Regions from separate parts of the Homo sapiens genome. Here region 1 is linked to region 2. The links are contacts of gene promoters, found by promoter capture Hi-C in blood cells and fetal thymus (Javierre and others, 2016). All regions are on one chromosome and are shown on one strand. Each heading gives the region's core, a stretch centred on a gene start or on the middle of the fragment in contact. The rest is flanking DNA. Distances are from core to core; before and after follow the strand shown.

Region 1 (2,821 bases), core at 223-2,722, 2.8 Mb before region 2:
TGAAGTATCCAGGTCACTTTCTGCTTGCCAGGGTGTTTTACTTGTGGTTGATGCAAATGAGGTAGGTATTTTTCATTTTGTATGATGTGATATGACATGACTATTTGGTTGTTTCAAGAGTTTTTCTTTAAAATGTGTTTTGGAAATAGAATTTTTGTGTTTGAAAAATAGATTTAATCTGTTACTTACTGAAAATCATATGGTTTCATCCTGTTAATCTGAAATATTATTACAATAAAGCATTCTCTGGAATTGACTAGTTTTTAAATTGGAATTGTTCAAAAGATTGTTGTATTTTTTTGAAGTGTGACATCATATTGTCAATGCATCTTACCAAAAAAACCCCACCAACTTTAGCAGTTCTTAATCTGAGGTTTCTATATCCATTTTTAGCAGATCTTAAGAATAAATCATTAGTTTTCAGATCATTTTAGGTGATTTTAAGGCAATAATTTGGAAGTATTAGGTTTTTAAAAAATCAGTAACATTACTAAGCTCTTTTGTTGTGTAAGCCGTAAAGACACTCAGCAGATGACCATGTAAGAGCTGTGAATATAAACTTTTGTTACATGTTTCTCACAAACTCTTCATTCAAAACCCAACTTTTTTTTAGTGGTGGTGGTGACCGTGTTGTGTTAAGCCGTTAAGCCTTTCCTGATCCCATCAAGGAAAGTCAATCTCTACCTTATGTAGGCAGTACTGGCCTTTATAAACTACCTTGATGACTGTGTTCTCTAATAAGCTTTGAGGTCCTTGAGAGTCCATGTTACATCTTTTGTTTCTCCAATGCCTGATGTAGTTTCTGGCACAGAAAAGGCCCTCCAATAAATGCTTTCTGAACTGAAAGGAATTATTACAGAGGATGATTCAGATGCATGGAAAAATAGGTATCATAGTTGAGCTGCCGTGTACCTTTCCTTAAAGGCTTCCTATCTCAAGCTTAGTAGACTGTCTGTTGGCTCACTCTACTTGATGTGATTATTGCTTTACCATCAGCGATTTTCATATTGACCCCAAAGACATAAGTTGGAGAGAAAAGCATGAAGGGTAGCTACATGGCATTTTGTTTAATTTTATTATTAGCATAACGCAAAATCTCTTGATGAAGATGTATAGAATGGTCTTAAATTACAAGTTTTGTGATATATAATAGAATGGTCATCTCAGTATCTTGTATCTTGATATTTTCAGGGAATTCAAGCCCAAACTGTAGCAAACTTCTTTCTTGCCTTCGAAGCACAGCTATCGGTAATTCCAGTTATAAATAAGGTAATTACAATGAGACAACAGTGTTGCTATTTCACTTTCTAAAAGTACAATTAATGTTTAAATGTCAGTTGTACTATTCATTATATGAGGGATCACCAGCTATTTATTAAATATATTGGTGGGATTTATCTCTTTGAATTGTATATAACAGAAGTGCAACTGAAACTCACCCTTGCACAGAATTGAGAAGGTAGTTCTCCTGAATTAACTTGTGGTAGCTGAGGGCCATTTCTGTAGGGAAGGGAAGCAGGGCAGATGAAACATGTTTGTCAGATTAAACCATACATAGGAAAAGAAGAGAAGTTTATAATCTAGGAAGAAACAATACAACACATGAAGCATGACAATTTAGTGCTAAACTGAGCTCTGTCTATAAACTTCCATTTCATATTTTAAAATTAATTTAGAATCTTAATTTTAAAATCTGCATTGCTTTAATTATATTTCTTGATAATGGAGTTAAGTTTAAAAGAAGGCCATAGGTAAGACAGCTTGTTGTCAGACTTAATGTTGTATTTAACTTAACCTTTAAAATCAGTTCACATGCTGCTTAATTGATAAATTACTACTGATCTCTTCTGCTGCCCTGGGTAGCTAACTGCTTAAGTTTTTTTTGCAAGCTCTGCTACTTAACTTCTCTTTTTCAATCATGGTTATTAAATTATACTGCTAATATATAGATTATTTTACTGCTTTTGAAAAAATATTGTAGAGGGGTCAGTTAGGTTAAAGTGGGTAAGCTTTTAATTACCTCCGAATACTGTTAATACATAATACATCTTATCTTTATTATACTTCACATAATGGATTTTTTTTTTTAAAGATAGATCTGAAGAATGCTGATCCTGAAAGGGTTGAAAACCAAATTGAGAAAGTGTTTGATATTCCAAGTGATGAATGTATTAAGGTAAAATACGTTCCTAAAAAGATTATACTTTGAAAAAAGTCTCAAGTAATTGGGCTAAGTGAAATTTCATGGTATTTGATAACCTGGCATTATATGCTGTTTTTTATAGTTTTACAAACTTCTTTTACTATTATTTCCTTTGATCCTTATCAAAAGCCCTTTTTATATTGTTAGGACATACAGAAATTATTGCGATGCTGTAGTTAAAGGAACTGAGGCTCAAAGGTTTTATCACTTTCCTAAGATCACAGGTTTAGTTAGCCAATGTGCCAGGACTAAAACACAGGCCTTCTGAAACTCCCTGCAGTATTTCTTGTGTGTCAGTTTGCCCAGTGGAAATACTGTCTTTGAAGAGCAGGTTCAAACTAATTTCAGGGCTTTTGTATGTATCATTCTTGGAACTGACAAAAACCTATTTTATAAAAAGCTAGTTGTAGTGCTAGGAAACAATAGATTTTATTTATACCAAAGTTGCTACCATTTTAAATTTGAATTTTTATTTACCTTTGAAATGATGATCTGCTTGTTAAACAGCCACAGCCAAACTGCTATACTACATGGTAGTGTAAAGTATGTCAGCACAGCAATGTAATGTTTTTCTTTCAAGCTAATTTAATTTTCAAAAGAGCAAGTTATATATGGTTT
Region 2 (3,034 bases), core at 405-2,904:
GTGACAGGAGACAAGGCTGGAGAGGTGGGTGGAGCCAAATCAAAAAGGGCCTTGTGTACAAAGTAAAAGAGCCTAGACTTCAATCTGTGCTCAACCGGGAAGCAACCTATTCACACATTTGCATTATTTTTCCATATATTTGCTAACAGGTTGGAAGATGTAAGAGAGAGGGTGAGCCCAGATGCCTCAATTTTCAGTTAAGGAGTTAAAGATTAAGGGGCTTAAATTGTTGAGGACACTCAAAATGGAGGCAGTAAAGAGGTAGAAGAGATGTGAAAAGGGGGGGCCATGGATGAAACCTAGAACGTCAGGTTGAGAGGGGCTGGGTGAAAGTGGTGGTGCCACAAACCGAAAATGAGGCTACGGGAGGAGTAGGTCCAGGGGGAAAGAAGAGCTGAGGCAAGGGCATACTGAATTTGAGGTACCTGTGGCAGAAGCCTGACACTCAGGGAAGAGATTTTGGTTTGGGGTTTTTGGGGTTTTGTTTTGTTTTTTACCTGGCATTCTTGAACCATAGAGGAAGAAATTTTTGGCTGGACCTAAAGATTTAGAAGTCATCGACATATATGGTAATAAAGGTTATGGGCCTTATCTAAATGGGTAGAGTGAAGACAAGGAGAGCCAAAAGCCAATAAAACACTCAGAATCAACAGATCTGAGCATAAGTTCCAGCTCTGCCACTAACTGGATGGGCAATCCTGGGCAAGTTAGCCAAAATTTCTGCTGACATTTCAGGTTCCTCACTTGCAAAAACAAAGAAAAGAATTAGGTGTTTTTTTTTCTTGACCCTGGCAGGAGGTAAGTTCATTCCTTTCTGTCTCCTCCACACTTTCTCCAGTATAAATGGAATAGAGGAAACAGGAAGCCAAAATTGAGACTTATAAAAAAGATGCTCCACCAGGGCACAGGCTGTGTCTCACTCACCATTTACCTCATCCCATCGGGGCGCTCAATCTATGGTAGACTTCAATGAAAAACTGGCTGAACAAATGAATGTGGTTGCTTTTTCCAGATTCTTACAAGCCAGGTTCTTTTACAGACTGGAAGTCAATGGGTACATCACCTCTTGGGACGATCCTAACTAAAGTAACTCGCCCAGTTATTTCTCTTCCTACCAACCACCCTCAAGGGGGGAGGCAGGGTCCGCTTCGGTCTTTGTCACATTGTATTCCAGCACCTAGCTCTGTACCTGCTGTCCGGTAGGTAGGGAGCCTTTGGGAGGTTATGTGTTGAATGAATTAAGAAAACGTATACTAAGAGGCAGCAAACACCGACTTAAGCTTTCAAAGCCCAGTCTGGTGTGGGCGCTTCTGCGCGCAAAGCCCCTGGAGCTGCACCTCTAGGCTGGGGGTGGCGCCCCAAGCTGTCCTCCTAGGCTCCCCAGGGAAGGCGGGGACCAACCACCCGAAATCACGCCCCTTCCTCCTCCCTTCCCTAGGGAGCTTGCGAAGGCGTCCGGGTCGCACCCGGCCTGATCCGCACGCCGGGCTGTCGCGAATCCCAGGCCCCGCGCCGCTTCCCCCGGTACCCGCCCTCACCTGCGGGCCCAGCTCGGCCGGCAGCTTCTGCAGCCGCCACAAGGGCGTCCCCTCTTCCGGCTCCATCCCTGCGCGAAGCTGGGGCTTGGGTCACGTGTCAAGGCTGGCCGCTTGTCTAAAGCTACGACTCGCCCACGTGACTCTCGCCGGCGGGGAGGGGCGTGGACCCAAGAAGTCCCTGTGCGCTTGCGCAGAGACCGAACTACCGCTTTCCCCGTAACCAGGGAGACTGCAGTTTGCAGTGATGTGGCTAAGATACCCTTGTGCTATTAAAGGCACATTTACGTATCTTTCAACGCAGTTTGTACCTTTGTTTAGGGTTCTATTGAACTTTCTCTGTGCTCTTTAGAAAACCGTCGAATAAAGGTAACCATCTTTTTGGGTGCCTGGGCATGGTCATTGTCCCAGAGTTTTAACAGAAGTCTCTACTAAAGTATCCTGATTTGCAAGGTAAATTAAGGTTTTGCCATGAGCAACGTTCTGTATATAGATCATCCTAGGGAGAAGGTACTATTTTCAGCCCTATTTGCAGAAAGCAAACATGATTAGAGAAGTCACTAAGGTTGTCAGATTTAGCAAATGAAAATACCAAGCGTCCAGTTAAATGTGAAATTTCAGATAAACAATAATATTTTGTTGTAAGTATCCCCTAAATATTGTATGGGATATATTTATACTGAAAATTATTTGTCCATCTGAAATTCAAATTTAACTGGTGTCCTGTATTTTATCTGGCAACGCTAAAAATCACTGACCTAAGTAAGAGGCCCAGTCTGAAGTTAAACAAAATCAATCAGACTCAAGAGCCATGCTATTAATGTTGGACTAAGCTCAAAGTCCAAATATCCTTTCTGTTATTTCTTATTACAGCTGTTACTTTAATCAGGTGCTGAAGAATTCAGTGGTGGTAAAATGAGCATGTCCTGCAAAAGCGGATAATAATAACTAGTAGACCAGAAACAGGAATTACAATCTAATTTATAAATTTAATAATAAAAGTGGTGCAAAATGGTGAAGCAGAAGAGAAAGTATTCAATCTATGGGCTACGCAGAGAAAAACTACTCATTAGCAGCATTCTAGGTTTACCTCCTACGTCCTTTCTCTGTGTGCCTCAACTCTAAAAGGTGAAGTCAATTTCTTTCTCCCGTGAGTTTTCATGATATTTTAGCTGTCCCTCACTTATTTACCACTTTCTAGTTCTTAATGCAGATAGATGCACAACACTCATTGCCCTATCTTAAATGTAATTGTCTTAAGATACTTTGTGAATAGGAGCTCCCCTAGTAATAGTTAAAATGAGAAGTCTGGAAAACTACTTCACCTGAGTCTTTCTGTAAATCTAATGATGGGTAAGGTCTATTTTGAGAAAAAAACTTAAATTTTATGTATTATAATAATTGGGAGAAAAGTACTTTCAAGCATCTACTATATGTCAAACCCTTCATATATTTTTATCTTACTAATTCCTGCTACAGCCTTGTACAGTGGGTATTAC

Evidence for each region. The method cuts DNA at HindIII sites, captures the fragments that hold promoters and counts their contacts. A CHiCAGO score of 5 or more calls a contact.
Region 1: a fragment that was not itself captured here is called in contact with the fragment with the promoter of COMMD8 in region 2 in 3 of 17 cell types (naive CD8 T cells, naive CD4 T cells and non-activated CD4 T cells); the score reaches 7.8 in naive CD8 T cells.

The regions. Positions count from the first base shown.
Region 1 is chr4:44,681,143-44,683,963 of GRCh38, forward strand. It overlaps GUF1 (GTP binding elongation factor GUF1), which reads left to right. Exons shown (of 17, transcript NM_021927.3): 4 at 1-61; 5 at 1,192-1,269; 6 at 2,093-2,176. Among named protein-coding and RNA genes, the nearest start is that of GUF1, 4.1 kb to the left of the region's middle. The HindIII fragment of the contact is 1,070 bases long and covers 938-2,007 here.
Region 2 is chr4:47,462,048-47,465,081 of GRCh38, forward strand. It overlaps COMMD8 (COMM domain containing 8), which reads right to left and starts at 1,655. Exons shown (of 5, transcript NM_017845.5): 1 at 1,539-1,655. The coding sequence starts at 1,604. It overlaps LOC107986277 (a long non-coding RNA gene), which reads left to right and starts at 1,836. Exons shown (of 3, transcript XR_001741683.3): 1 at 1,836-1,904. RefSeq lists a silencer at 1,386-1,645. The HindIII fragment of the contact is 2,743 bases long and covers 1,279-3,034 here.